4 separate regions of the Homo sapiens genome follow, and all the other regions are linked to region 1. Evidence: promoter capture Hi-C in 16 types of primary human blood cells and fetal thymus (Javierre and others, 2016). All regions are on one chromosome and are shown on one strand. Each heading gives the region's core, a stretch centred on a gene start or on the middle of the fragment in contact. The rest is flanking DNA. Distances are from core to core; before and after follow the strand shown. Region 1 holds the start of DZIP3 (DAZ interacting zinc finger protein 3). Region 2 overlaps LINC00882 (long intergenic non-protein coding RNA 882). Region 3 overlaps DUBR (DPPA2 upstream binding RNA). Region 4 overlaps BBX (BBX high mobility group box domain containing).

Region 1 (3,682 bases), core at 449-2,948:
CGCCTCGGCCTCCCAAAGTGCTGGGATTACAGGTGTAAGCCCCTGTGCCTTAAATCTCTTTCAGTGCACAACCTTCCTGTTTATTCAAAGAAAGGTAATGCTTCAGAATAGCATACAAAATGCTTAACTCCCGATTTTTAAATTAAACGGACTGCCCTGCTTATTCTGCGGCTTCTGGAGCCTATGCTAATTCAGAAGCAAAGCCTTAAGCATTTAACAGCTAACACCTTAATTATTAGGTTTGCAGGCACTTCTTAAAATAAAGAATGAAAAAGAGAAAACAAATGTACTTAGGAGATGGGCACTTGAAGTAGGGAAAAGAGGAGCACCAGTGAAGCTCAAGATAAGACAGACACATTTAATACAACAGCAGCTTCACTAACAGCTGCTGTTGCTCTACTACTGGAAATCATTTTTTTCCTGTAATATTTTACAAATTTTTGGCACATTAGTCTTTTATCATAGGGTTAATATAATACAATATATTTTAAAATTATGTTCAATTCTACCTTAACAGAGGAAAGCTGTGACACAGAGAGTTAAAATAAGCCTTAATTGAGCTTTAAAAAAATTAAACTGAGGTCAATGTTAGTTTGAATTCCGTAAATGCAAAACAAATGAAAGCAGAAGATTAAGATCCTAAAACAAACGGAATCGTCTGGACACATATCACTAGAATAGAAAAAAAGGCAATTCAGCATTCTAAGATTAAAAAACTGTAAGCAATGTATTTTGGTAAAGAAAAAGGATTACGCTTACTAGGAAGGGGAAGTGCTTCTTAATGTTGAAATAATGTTTTTCAAGTTTGAGTTCAACCCGAGTTCAAGTAAGAGCAGTAAGCAACAAATTCAATTATAGATTACCGAAGGGCAAAACCAAGTTTTAATCATGACTTTCCGTCACTGAGAATAGTTGTGTATTGAGGGCTTGGTTTCGTAGAAAAACCAAAACTAGAAGCAAAGGAAAAGATAAAGTTCCGAGCTTTTTCCGTTACCTACTCGAAACAACCTGAACTTCCCAACCTTTTGCCCCACTCCCGCTTTTCCTAGAGCCTTCAGTGAGCGCTCTTGCCTCTCGCTGCGGCCAGCGGAACCCCGACACTCACTAGCCTTTACCAGTACGAAAAGACAACAGAGGGATCGAAGGACTGTCCTTTCTTTCCCAGGCTGGGGCCGCCACTCCTCGGCCTCACTGTGAAATAAGAATTGCTAGGGGAAGCCCCATCTGTCCTCTACCCCAGAGCCTCTCACCTCCAAGTGCCGCAAAAGCTGAGTGGCGTTCGCCTCTGACTTCACGGCTTTGTACTGACTGACAGTCAGGAGCAAGGACTTCAAGCAGGCAGTGGAGTCCATTGCACCGGCCGCGGCCCGGCTTAGGGACCACCACCGCCCAGCGTGCGCCGGCCTTTAGCTTTCGCCGCGCTTTTTTTGATTTTCGGCCCCACCCCCTCGCTCTCAGAAGCTTCCGGATCCGGTCGGGCTCCGGAAGTCCCTAGGCACCCTAGGGGACCGTTCTCGGTGACGGCCGGGGTGGGCCAGGGGTCGAGGTGATTTGTGGGTCCAGGACGGGGGTTGGGAGCTGCCCCCGCTAACCCACCCTCGTCTGAGAGGCCGCGAGGTTTCGGCCTGAGATCCCGTGAAGGCGAGAAATCTCGCGATTTCTCGGGAGAGGAATCGGTTAGGAGAAGGGGGATTCCTCACTCAGCTGTGCGCTCTGATTTCGTGCGCTTCCTCGTCCTTCATGTTGGATGGCCAGTTTTTCGTTTGTGCGTCATCCTCTACCTGAGAAATGGTCGCTTGCCCCTAGTCTAGACACGGTGAGGAGCTCTGAGGAGAAGAATCTTGGGCCCTAGATTTTGAGGCGGCCTGGGAGGGGCCTCGTTTTTAAATCTCTCCTACACCCGCCCCTTCTGCCCGGGGATGGTAGTTTCTCAGAGTCAACCTATTGGCATTATGTGGCAAATTAGTCATGCCCTGACCAAAGTATTTGTCACATTTATTCGAGAAGACTACCTCCTGCTGACCCTGGGCCAGGTATTGCTCCGGAGGGTGTTACTCGTTAGCGTCAGTTTTTGTAAGTGAAGGTGTCTGTTTCTCTCTGGCATGATTGATTGTTTTATAATTCTCGATGTCTACGAAAATGGCACTATTATTTGCGTTTTTTAAATCGGAGATAGCTTAATATTATTGCATGTGTATGTAATGAAGCGAGTCAGTTACTGGTTTTGGAGCTTTTTGCTTAATATTTCCTAACGTCGAATAAAGCTTTAAAAACCAGGATGTAGAAATTGTAAGAATAGGGTACATTTCCATTTAATTAAATCGTTTATCAGAAATCATGTTTTTTCACTTCAAAAGAATTTTTTTGAATTACTAGATTTTTGAAGACAGGTTTGGTGTTTTGGTTTTGTTTTTTATAAAAGTTTAAATCTGAAAGATAAAAATGATTTAACCAGTTGGGACATTCATGTAAAAATCTTTGGGTAGCTTGTGTGTTCATTTATGCTTTCATTCATTCCGTAAACAATTATAGAGCGTGTAACATGGGTTAGAAACTGCCAGTCAGGGAACAGAGATGAAGTAGTATCCCCTGCTGCGAGGGAACTGTCTAGTAAGGGAAACATACAAAATAGTACTTTTGAAATTCACCACATAAATGAGAGGCACCATGCAGTAACATGCAGCAGTGGTAAAGAGTAGAGAGCCAGGTTGCTTACAGATTCTAGCTCCACCTTTGACGATGTGACTCTAGGCAAGTTCTCACTGCTGCAGAATCTTCATTAGGTAAAATCTGGCCAAGGGAGATACCTGGTTCATAGGACTGTTCATTCAATAAGTAGTTCATTGAGAATCTACAATGTGCTAAGCACTTTTCTAGACACAATAGACTCAGTGAAAAAAACAAAAATACTACTGGCATGCAACTTACATTTTGGTAGGGAACCAAATAATAAACACAATAAATAAGTAAGGAAAATGATATAAAGAGAAAAATAGACGTTATTACTCTAGAATAATGTTGGTAATTGATAAGGGAAATGGGAAGGTGACCTCATTAAGAAAGCAACATTTGGGGAAATGCTTCAAGGAGTTGAGAAAGGGAGCCATATTCTATGGGAAAAGGTTTTTAGATAGAGGAAATGGCAAAGAAAGACCCTAAAGTGGGATACTGTATGCCAGAAACAAGGATGCCATGTGGCTAGTGTAGAAAGAACGAGGAGGAGAGGAGTAGAGATGAGGTCCTATACGGTCTTGGAGATGGTTAAAAAATGAATTAATGTAAAGTGTCAGCTGTCATCTGGCATAATTAAGTTCTCAGTGTTACAGTCAGTGCCTCATTGGCAAATGAAGTGATCAGAGTTTGATAGTGTTGGACTTTTCATCTGTGATGATGTGTCAGCATCGTCCCCATTCAGAGGCCCAGGGTAATGCGCAAAGCTGCGTGCTATCAGTGCCATCTTTGTTGGATTTTGACTTAAGCAGTCATACAAATTTTGTATTCTCTTCTGTAATTAATATCAAATGTCTTTCTCAAAAAATCTTCACCAAAATTGATGTTGTAAGTTTAGTAAGAGGGATCGTTTCTAGCTGTGATAAGTCTTGACATTTTTAATCAGAGATACTTGCATATCCTAATTTGAGAAACACCAATCCATACTTTTAGGCCTCAAAAAGGGAAGAAA
Region 2 (3,682 bases), core at 788-3,287, 1.4 Mb before region 1:
CCCATGGTGTTTCTGGTCTCCCTCTCCTCTCTCCCCTCTCCCCTCTCCCCTCTCCATCTCCCTCTCCCTCTCTGTCTCCCTCTCCCTCGGCAGGTCCAGAACTAGTGTGAATCGAGTTAAGAGAGGTGCCTTGGGTGCAAAATTTAAGGGACACTTCTTCTCAGTGTCATGCAAATGCACCTCAGAGCACCTCCTTAAATTTTGTACAAGGCACCTCTCTTGCCTCACCCTGGCCCTGGCCCTGCCTCCAGGGCCTCTCTACATAGCTCCATGGCTCAGGCTTCTTACAGCTTGGTGCTCTCAGGGTAGGAAAGGGGCAGGAAAAGTCTATGCGTATATTAATAATTGGCAAGGTGTCACTTTCACCCTATTCTATTGGTCAAAACAGTCACTGGGTCTGCCCGGATGCACAGGTAGAGAAACAGATACTACCTATTGATAAGGCTGTGAGAAGATCTCATTACAAAGAGCAAGTGGTATGAGAGACATTGCTGCAGCCATCTTTGAAAAAATACATTCTTCTACATCTTCCCTTATAAACTATCCTTCACTTTATCCATGGAACACTGCTGTGATATCCTCATTAATATCCTCATCTCTAAACTTCATTTTCAGCTCAGCATGCTATAGCATACCTCCACCAGACCTTCCTGTTATTATCTCATTAGCACCCTTACTTAAAGTTTCTAGTGGCCCCCGACTTATAAATAAAACCCACACTCTTCCACCTTCATTTAAAGTGTTTCATAATTTGGTCCATCTCACCTGTTATGGATTGAATTGTTTCCGCTAAAAGATATGTTCAAGGCATAACTCCTGGCTATGGTTTGAAAGTTTCTCCACCAAAATTCAAGTGCTGCCAATGTGATAGTATTAAGAGGTATTGCCTCTAAAAGGTGATTAGGCATGAGAGCTCCTCCCTTGTGAATGAGATTAGTTGCTCTTATAAAAGGGCTTGATGGAGAGAGTTCATCCTTTTTTGCCATTTTGTCTTCTGCTGTGTGAAGACACAGCATTCATCCTCTCTAGAGGATGCAGCATTCCAGGCGCCATCTTGGAGGCAGAGACTGGACCATCACTGGACAATAAACCCGCTGGTGCCTTGATCTTGGACTTCACAGCCTCTAGAACTATGAGAAATAAATTTCTGGTCTTTATGAATTACTGAGTCTATGGTATTTTGTTATGGCAGCACAAACAGACTAAATTACCCAGACCTGTAAATGTGAGCTTCTTTGGAAATGTGGTTTTTGCAGATGTCATCAAGTAAAAGTGAGGTCACACTGGATTAAGTCAGGCCCTAATCTCATGACTAGTGTCTTTATTGAAAAAAAAAAAAAAGAGAGATAGAGAGAGAGAGATTTGGACACAGAGATACAGAGGAGACACAGGAAGGAAGGTCATGTGAAGACAATGGCAGAGATTGGAGGGATGCATATAAAAGCCAAAGAATGCCAATGATTGCCAAGAGACAAAGATAGAAAGAGACAAAGGAAGATTCTTCTCCAGAGCCTTGATAGGTAGCATGGATGGCCAGGTCAAAACCTTGATTTCAAACTTCTGGCCTCCTGACTATGGAAGAGCAAATTTCTTTGCTCTTCTTTGTTTTCAGCCACAAAGTTTGTGGTAATTTGGCATAGCAGCCCTAGGAAACTAACATACCATCTATCCAGGTCTACCTCTCCCACGGCTTCCAAACATTCACCCTTCATACAGACAGAGGTCTCTTCCCTGTCTCCATCTTCCAATTCATTACCACACCTGTTTGTCCTTTCCTTCTTCTATAAGTAGCAAAGCATAGCAGTGTGCACAGCTATAAATTGTCTCTGAGTTAGAACTGTCTTCTTCTACTGTTCTGGTGGGCAGGGCACTTGTCCCAAGTGCTGAGTCAGAGTACACTTGGTACAGAGGCATTTCATGCATTTGTTAACTAAAATAAAAAGTGAATAGATATTAAGGTTTTTTAGTAAGTGCTTAGAGTTATAAATAGAATTACCTATCACATTGTTTATTGAAAACAATTGTTTAGGTGACACAGCAATTTATAGAAAACAGATCTGCAAAGCTATAGAAGTCCTTCCTTAGCTATCTACCACCTACCTGTCGTAAATTATATAAATTACAGTGGCTTTAATTAACTGGACCAAAAATGACTTCCAAATAGTAATTCAATAACCTAGACCTCTAGCAAGGTTGCCCCCATTATTATCATTTTGATGGTTGGAACAGTATATGAAAAGCTCCTTAAGGAATTAGAGAGATCATCTATATTCTTTTTAAATAACAATAGGGATTAGACAGTTTATAGTACATATTGGTCACACAGTTATGAGTATAAATCATGCCACAGATTTGAAAGACAGTATCTGATATGCGAAAGAAATTGTTCTGTGATGGCTGATCTACAGCTGGAGCCTGGACACCCTGGTTATGTGTATGTTCCACATCTTAGCAGACAACCTGGAAGGCATTCAGAGGAGTGAGCAAAATGGTGAAGAGGCTTGAGGAACAGCAGAGTAATGCAGTGATGTTTCAGTTGAAGAACAGATGTCTCAGAAGAAATTCAATTTCGTTCATGTATAAGAAATATTTTTCTAAAAAATAATTATGCTTACTTCTTTGTACCCTAAATAGAAAAGCTAAGCCAATAAATGAAAGATAAAGATAAATTTTGAATTGTCATAAGATTCCTAAAAATAAGGTTAGTAATTGTGAATTGTCCCTGGAAATGTTCACGCAAAGGTCTGTAACTTCTCAACAAGAATATCTCATTTATCTTTGTAGTCCTCATGCATAGCACAGTTCCAACATATAATAACTGATCAATATACATCTGATAAATAAAGTGAAATTCAAGTAACTGATGGTAGTTTGGATTAAATGTTTCCTTACAAACCTAGGATTCCCATATTTTAGGATTCCAAAATAAGCTCAACTATGAGTCACTAATTTTTCCTTTCAATGTGTCACATAGTCATAATTTCCTTTATACTGGATGTGTACTCCTCAGGAAATTAAAGAAGGATCCCAAACATCTTATTGGGAACATTTTAGGTAGTACCATGCAGTAATTAAGTGCAAAATATGAAACACTTAAGAAACTTCAAAGGCACATATTTACACATATACTATTAATCTAAAATTTCCCTCATTCAAGGCAAAAATGGGCCGCAATTTACCAAATCTGTATCACAGACATTATGCTTAGTGCTTTAATATTCATTCAAAAGTATTTATTGAACACTGACTGTGTGCCACACACATGTAATATTTATAACCAATTTAGCAAGGTAGGTATTAATATCTCCATATGAAAGCCAAAGGAGTTATGTAACTTGTCCAAGTTCAGGCACCGCAAGTCCATATACAGCCTTTGTACAAATTTAAAAAAAAACAGCTGGGTGCAACGGCTCACGCCTGTAATCCCAGCACTTTGGGAGGCCAAGGCAGGTGGATCACGAGGTCAGGAAATAGAGACCATCCTGGACAACATGGTAAAACCCTGTCTCTACTAAAAATACAAAAATTAGCCAGGTGTGGTGGCACGCATCTGTAATCCCAGCTACTCGGGAGGCTGAGGTAGGAGAATTGCTTGAACCCAGGAGTCGGAGGTTGCAGTGAGCCAAGATCGTGCCACTGCACTCCAGACTGGCAACAGAGCGAGACTCCGTCTCAAAAACAA
Region 3 (3,682 bases), core at 523-3,022, 1.3 Mb before region 1:
CCTGGCTGTAGCCCTTATTTTAAATTCAATGTACTGTAATGATTTACTTGGTTTATTGTCTTAACTTTCTGTTCCACTGGAATACAGGTTCAATAAGGAGGGATTTTAATCAATTTTGTTCTCTGAAGTGTCTTCAGAACCAAATGAGTAAAAAATTATCATTGTTGACGTTTTCACTTCGTGCTAGCATATGGGCAATCTCAATTTATTTCTAATAACTCCCTGTATCTTTCAGAGCATTCCTTCATGAATGAAGAAAGCCCTGATAGTGTTCCAGTAATTTATGTTTTTTATGTTTGAATTTCTTAACAAAAAGAATTATACCACTAAAAGATCCAGCTTTTTTGTTTGTTTTACTTTTTGAAAAAAAATTTATATTGTTAATAGAGACAGGGTCTCACCATGTTGCCCAGGCTGGTCTCGAACTCCCGGACTCAAGTGATCCACCCTCCACAGCCTCCCAAAGTGCTGGGAGTACAGGTGTGAGCCACTACACCCAGCCAAGATCCAGCTTTTTTACCAGGGAAAATAAGAAATTTAATATGCTTGTTTCCAAAGCAACAAAAGCTTTACATGATTAAGTAGACTGAGGGCTCTTCCATATTAGACGAAAATATCCAGCCAAATTGCTGAGGACTCCCTCAGACAGGAAAAAAAATGTTTAGAGCCATCCTCACAAAGAAATTTTCCTGTTTAATTATAACCTAATTATGACAACTTTTTTTTCTTTAGGTGGTCAGGCTCAGGATGGACCATGAGCTTTCAAAAAGGAAAAAGGTGGAAATCCTCAACTATGCTGCCATCTGAATAAGTGTTTCTTTGTAGATGCACAGAGTCAAGGAAAATTACATCCCTGCATTATGTAATGTACCAACAACGCACTTACCCACTGTTTTAATCTAGGTTATTCTTGAAAGCAGAGCCTGAGACAAAGGTAGACACATTCTATTTATGAGTCTAACACCCAGGAGCAGGAATGAGAGATAGGGGAGTGAACTGGGGAAAAGGGAAACTAAGTCCGAGCAAAACCAGATACTGCTCTTATCAAGTGGTCCACCCCTATTAATGGCTACATAATGCAGAACTTTCTCAGGATTCTTCTTAAACTTTATCTCAGAACTGTCTGCCTCAGGGAGAAAGGAGAAGTATTTCTCCATCAGCAGCCACCTCCTGTGTGTTGAGGGCTGCTCCTTTGGGGCATTAACCCACTGCCTCCACCACCCCAACCCTCTGGGCTGCAAAGAGCTAGCTGACAGTCCAGCTGGTACCTTAGCATCACACATTGCTGCATCAGAGAGGTCTTAAGACAGGAAGCTAGAGTCTTGGTGCATGCTCGAAGTGAGACGGTGTCAGCACAGAGCAGGGTAAAATCTTCCCGTTAACTCTTCACCAGAGCTATGACTGGAATCAGAGGTTGAAAAGATGTGAGACTGTACCCAAGAAGCATCTTATAAGCCTACGTAATATACTGTTAGACTCATCGAAATCTATTTCCTCCCTTCTTTATAATCAAAACTTCAGTGTCCAGAATAAAGTTGGCAGAAGGGTTAAATTGGAAAGTTAAATGTACTAGAAGGTGTACATTTATAAGTTTTGACCTTGAGTCGTGTTCAAGGAGAAAGTGACATTGGAACTTGGAAAATTTAAAAATGATTCTACTTGAAAAATTTGACCATTGCATAGAAATATTAGCTATCGTCTAATCTTTTGTAATCTTAGAAACAATCGTGAATTGTTTGGTGAAAAATGAAAAAATAACCATTTCTTATGTCTCCGTGACCTTTATAGACCAATGTCACCAACTTTTCCTAAGGTAATTGTTTCCTACTGTCAAATAGCTCTAGTGATATAAATCTTAACAATCAATGAAGGGAAAACTGGTGGAAACATAGGAGGAAAAATACTGGGATAATTTTCATCACAAAGTATTGGCATTAACATTGGTTAGAATAGGGGAGAAACTGCATGACTTGACAACTGGACATTCCTGTATGTTGTATGAGGCCCTGTCTTAACAGAAATAGTGATGTCATCATCATCCTCTCTTATTTGGTCTTGAATTGCCACCAATCGGATAAAACCTTTGAATTATTTAACTCAATATATGTTAAGTTTCTACTATGTGCTGTGTATTGGTACTATAAATATGAATAAGACATAAGATATTACATTCAAAAACATCAGAATACATGTTCTTTTAAAGTATACCCCAAAACATTTACCATGTGTTCTGGGGCGCATGTTAGGCTGGATCACAAATCAAGTCTCAAGAATTTCAAAAGATTGAAATCATATAGAGTATGAATTAAACCAGAAATCAAGTACATAAAGGTAACAAAAAATTTCCAAAATGCATTAATTTAAGGAACATACACCTCATGACCCATGAGCCAAAAAATAAATCACGGCAAAATTGCAAAAATATTTTGAAATGAATTTTAAAGAAAATACTTAGCATATTAAATACTTAGCATATTAAAGCTCTAAGTACATATGTTAGAAATTTTACCGAAAGGTTGGCTATCAGTGTTTCCAGAAGCCAGGGAAAAAGTTTATACAATTTGATCGCTGAGGCAGGGAAACAAAGTGAGACCTCCGATCGCCCTGCCTTTCTGAGGTGAGCACTCTGGATCCCATCGCAGGAGATCAGAGTCTTGCTGAGTTGAGGAGAGGAAGATTGGAGTTGATACTGAGATAGCTTGAATTTTCAGGACAAAGTATCAACAAGGAGGAAGGTAGACAAAAAAATCCAGAAATCTATGTAGAGACCCCATTGTGTACATTGCGGAACACTAAGCCTAACAATTCTCAAAATTAGCGTGAGATTGGGAAATATCTAATTTCCATCCAGCCACAGTGGAGAGTCCTGACTGAAAACCAGGCATTCGCTAAAGATCCCAGAAAGGTTGTGTGTTACATACGTAGGGCTAAACTATCCTGACTAAAAACTACACTACACTTGCTCCTCACCCCCACAAAAAGCTTAAAAACAAGCCTCAATAGTATAAAGCTGATCTGTAAGTAACTAAACTACCTGCAGAACAAAGTCCAAATTTATTAGTTCCAGTACTCCAAAAAAAACACATGTAAAAAAAAAATAGATTTACAAGACATTTATTTGGGGAAAAAAAGAATGCCTGAGGGTTGAAATGGAGAGGAAGCCAGAGAGACAGAGTCCTCAGAATACATAAAATTTCTGGCCTCCATGGAGGTGTGATGGTTAATTTTATGCATGTCAACTTCGCTGGGCCACAGGATGCCCCATATATGATCGAACATTATTTCTGGTTGTGTTCATGAAGCTTTTTCTGGAGGAAATTCGCATTTGAATTGATGGACTGAATAAAGCAGATTGCAGTCCCCAGTGTGGATGGGCTTGATCCAGTCTTCTAAGGACCCAAATAAAATAGGTGGAGGAAGCTTGAATTTTCTGCCTGACTGTGGCGCTGGGACACCCATCTTCTCCTGCCCTTGAACTGGGACTGACACCATCAGTGCTCCTGGTTCTCAGACCTTCGGACAGCAGACTTGGGGCCTTCTCGGCCTCCATTATTGTGTAAGCCAATTCCTTATAATAAATAAGGGTTTATTTATTGATAAATCCTTATAGGTTGATTATAAATCCTTATTAATTGATTGATAGAGCCATAGGTTTTATTGATCCTGTTTCTCTGGAGAACCC
Region 4 (3,682 bases), core at 442-2,941, 1.0 Mb before region 1:
TGGCTTCATTTTCCTGTCTTTCTGCCTAAAGAGCAGAGGGGCTCGTGGCCCTGAAACAGGCTCCTTCCCTGCCTGACTCCATCTGCAGGAAGGAGAAGCACAGCACACTCAGCTCAAAGGGAGGTGCCTCCTCCCTTGAAGAAGCCCATCCAGAGGTTCACAGGGAGCAGATGAGAGAAGAGTTCTTCCTGCTCCCTGGGCCAAGGGGAATGTGGACCTGTCCCCTGCTTGTGACATTTTCCCCAACCTGTCAAATGCAAGAGTAGCAAATTTGGAAGAGTAGAAGAAGGCAGTTGCAGGCGGCAGCTACCTGATTGGGGTGAGTTATTCTTGAGGCATTTGAGATATTGAGTTGATGATTTAAATATTGGCCCACTAAAGATTTTATAAGTAATGTAGTCATTCCTTGGGCCCTGAGGGACCCTCTTGTTCTATATTCCAGCTCTTTCGTAATGAGAGGGATTACCCATACTCAGAAGAGATGCATGTCTCAAACGCCTGCATTATTTTTTCTCACTTTCACATTGTGTTTCCTCTAGTTGTTGAGGTGAGCTCCTTTTAAGATAGGCTTTATTGTTTTATTATACTGCTTATATTTAGGAGTTTTTCTTCAAAATCTATGTCAGAAGATAGGTCTCGTAAAGGGCGAGTAAGCACTTGGGCGAATCATGCACTGGAATTTATCTTTTGATTAAGTTTGAGAGTGTGCCTGGAACAGTTGGGTCTTTCATCTCTCAGTCTGGAGCCTCCTTTAGTAACTTGTCCTGAGACTATAGGCAACCCACTAGCTAGTTATAGGGCCACCAAAAGAGCTGCCCAGACACTTAAGCAAACACACAGGGTCCAAGCTTCATACTGGATCCCTTCTTGCCATGTATTCGGGGATGAATCACTGCTTGAAGGGTCTAATCTGTCTCCTTATTGTCCTGTCTGGAAGGGTCACATTATTTGAGTGTAACTCCTGAGAGCCTGGCGGGTCTTTTCACACAGATGTTGATGGATGCTTTGCAGTCCCTCCCATCCCAGCAGATTTCTTTGTGCCTCTTTTTACATAGGCACTTAACCTATGTTGAGGGAGCCTCTTTTATTACCAGAAAGAAGACGTTAAAGGAGTTTAATCCTCACTGTTGGTAATAGTTTGTTCTTCCCCAGTTTGCATACTCGGGTTTTAGTTGGATATCGAGCTGCCTCTTTTTTACCATATCGGTCTTCATTCTATTATTTGTGTTCTTAAATGTCTTGTGGGAACATTAGAAAGGTACCTATGATGGTTGAATATCTTTAGTTTTACTATCATTTTCTATAGAATTTTAAAATCTAGTTTTAAGAACACAAGTTGGCAAGCTCTGGAGTATTTTTTGTTAATTATATAAATTATATATTTATGGCGGTGGATTTTTTTTCCCTACGTAACTTTGGATTGTACTTGAGAAGCTCATTGCAAATCAGCACAGCAGATTTTAAAAAGCCAATAATCTTTTATGTAAAATTTGACTTACTTATGGCATTATATATGCAGTTAATTGGGTCTAGTTCATTTTAATCACTTGACATCAGTTATAGAGTCCAATTTCAGACATAGGAAATTATGAAACATTAATGTAATACAAAATAGGCTCTTTATCATGCTTTTTTCATGAAAAAATAGTTTCACTTACTAGGAGTTTATGTTGGCTATTTGATTTTTAATCTTGTTTCTCTTGTGTGAGCTTTTGGACAGAATATGAATTTTAAATCCACAGGTTTTTTTTGTTGTGATTTTTAAAAATTATTTTCACTATCCTCCAACATTGTTATTCAGTATTATTATACAAGCACATTCATGTGATAATATATACTAACAATTTGTTTTATTTTACTGAAGATTCCAAAACAAAATTTCTATTAGTAAAGAACATTGTCTTTTGATGTAATTATAGTAAATTTTAGTTTAATCTTAATATTTAAATATTTACCAAAATATATGACTCATATGTAGGTAAGTTATCAGGGGAAAACATCCTATGATTTTAAAACTGTTAAGCACTCAATTTTTTTTTTTAATTGAGACAGAGTTTTGCTCTTTTTTGCCCAAGCTGGAGTGCAGTGGCACGATCTTGGCTCACTGCAACCTCCGCCTCCTGGGTTCAAGTGATTCTCTTGCCTTAGCCTCCCCAGTAGCTGGGATTACAGGCATGCACCACCATGCCTGGCTAATTTTGTATTTTTAGTAGAGATGAGGTTTCACCATGTTGGCCAGGCTGGTCTCAAACTCCTGACCTCAGGTGATCCGCCCGCCTCGGCCTCCTAAAGTGCTGGCATTGTAGGCGTGAGCCGTCACACCCAGCACAGTCAATATTTTTAATAAGAGATAATAAACTTCATGATTTTAGTCAGTCTTCTGTAACTATGCAAACAAATGTTAAAATATGGAAGACCTAAAATCTACCTAATATCTGGTCTGAGTGTAATCTTTAAATTGTTATTCATAAATGAATTCTTGAATGAGTTTTGCTTAAAGACAATCTTGTATTTAACTAGGAGCAAATTTAAACCAAGCTTTTAATTTTTCATATCCAAGCTGATGATTTTGCCTTAAAATGTCTTTGATCATATTTTTACTTACTAAACATCTGTAAAATAGTTACATTCATTATTATACACTTATATATATATTATTATTACACACTTGTTGGCAGTGTAGGGTGGATAAAAGAGAAATTTAAGACGTTTTCCCTGTGTCCTAGGAAGGAAATGGCCTTTTCCCATCTCCTTTGAATCTCTTTTGGTTATGCAGGCCAGTCTCTTTTATGATTCTTAAACTTGGAAATTCCCCTTCTGTGATCTTTCATTTGTGTCATGTTCCTACCAGGTTTGAAGTGAAGAGACTATATTTTCTTCTAGGGGCTTAGCAGTACTTTGCATATACTAGATAGCTAAAAATTGTGGAATTAAGCATAGATTTTTAAAAACTAGCTTTGATAATATAAGTATATGCCAAATTATAATTAGTGGTTTGGTAACTGGTCTTCTGTGCTGTGGGCATCAGCTGATTTATTCAGTTTTTATACACTGCTTCATACTCCGTCGTTAGTGTCCTTGAATTGGCTGTTTCTTTTACTTTGCAACCAGGAACTTAAGAATTTGAGTTACACATGAAGAATTTATTTATCAACAGCAGGGCAGAATTTATAGAATTTGTTAAATCTCATTCTTTATCATGTACTATGTCCTCTAGGGAATAGTTGGCTGATATTTTTAGAAAAGAATTATGTTATTATCATTACCATTAGAATGCTTTTTTTAAAATTAGAATCTAGATTACCTTTATCAATTTGTACACAGTATTATTACATCTGTAGTGGCATATTTGTAAAATATTTACTTTAGTATATAATGTGTATATATATGAGCCAAGGTATTTTTTAGAAAGATTCTTTAACGTTTTATTTTTAATGTTTTCCCCCAAAACTTTAGGCAGAAGCAGTTATTTCTTCTTAGCTTGCTAGGGCATCCAATTTTCATCAAATTTTCGCCAAACCTTCTTTTTAAAAAAAAATCACATTTACCTAGTAGAGGTATTGTTAAAGTACTTTCTATAGGTAGCAAATATTAAGCAAAATAATATTATATTTTTTGAAAATATTTGGAAAAATTTCTGCAGTTTTTACCTTAAACATTTTTAGCACGCATATGGCATATG

What was found. The method cuts DNA at HindIII sites, captures the fragments that hold promoters and counts their contacts. A CHiCAGO score of 5 or more calls a contact.
Region 2: a fragment that was not itself captured here is called in contact with the fragment with the promoter of DZIP3 in region 1 in 1 of 17 cell types (M2 macrophages); the score reaches 5.2 in M2 macrophages.
Region 3: a fragment that was not itself captured here is called in contact with the fragment with the promoter of DZIP3 in region 1 in 1 of 17 cell types (M2 macrophages); the score reaches 5.1 in M2 macrophages.
Region 4: a contact is called between a fragment that was not itself captured here and the fragment with the promoter of DZIP3 in region 1, in 1 of 17 cell types (M2 macrophages). The highest score is 5.7, in M2 macrophages.

The regions. Positions count from the first base shown.
Region 1 is chr3:108,588,024-108,591,705 of GRCh38, forward strand. DZIP3 (DAZ interacting zinc finger protein 3) reads left to right here and starts at 1,699. Exons shown (of 33, transcript NM_014648.4): 1 at 1,699-1,816. It overlaps CIP2A (cellular inhibitor of PP2A), which reads right to left and starts at 1,415. Exons shown (of 21, transcript NM_020890.3): 1 at 1,251-1,415. The coding sequence starts at 1,352. RefSeq lists an enhancer at 1,614-1,893. The HindIII fragment of the contact is 803 bases long and covers 1,460-2,262 here.
Region 2 is chr3:107,225,430-107,229,111 of GRCh38, forward strand. The region is part of intron 1 of LINC00882 (long intergenic non-protein coding RNA 882); the gene reads right to left. The region is part of intron 1 of LOC124909404 (a long non-coding RNA gene); the gene reads left to right. Among named protein-coding and RNA genes, the nearest start is that of LINC00882, 13 kb to the right of the region's middle. The HindIII fragment of the contact is 5,421 bases long and covers 1-3,682 here.
Region 3 is chr3:107,245,276-107,248,957 of GRCh38, forward strand. All of the region lies in intron 1 of DUBR (DPPA2 upstream binding RNA), which reads left to right. Among named protein-coding and RNA genes, the nearest start is that of DUBR, 6.4 kb to the left of the region's middle. The HindIII fragment of the contact is 2,415 bases long and covers 566-2,980 here.
Region 4 is chr3:107,578,603-107,582,284 of GRCh38, forward strand. The region is part of intron 2 of BBX (BBX high mobility group box domain containing); the gene reads left to right. Among named protein-coding and RNA genes, the nearest start is that of BBX, 57 kb to the left of the region's middle. The HindIII fragment of the contact is 1,690 bases long and covers 847-2,536 here.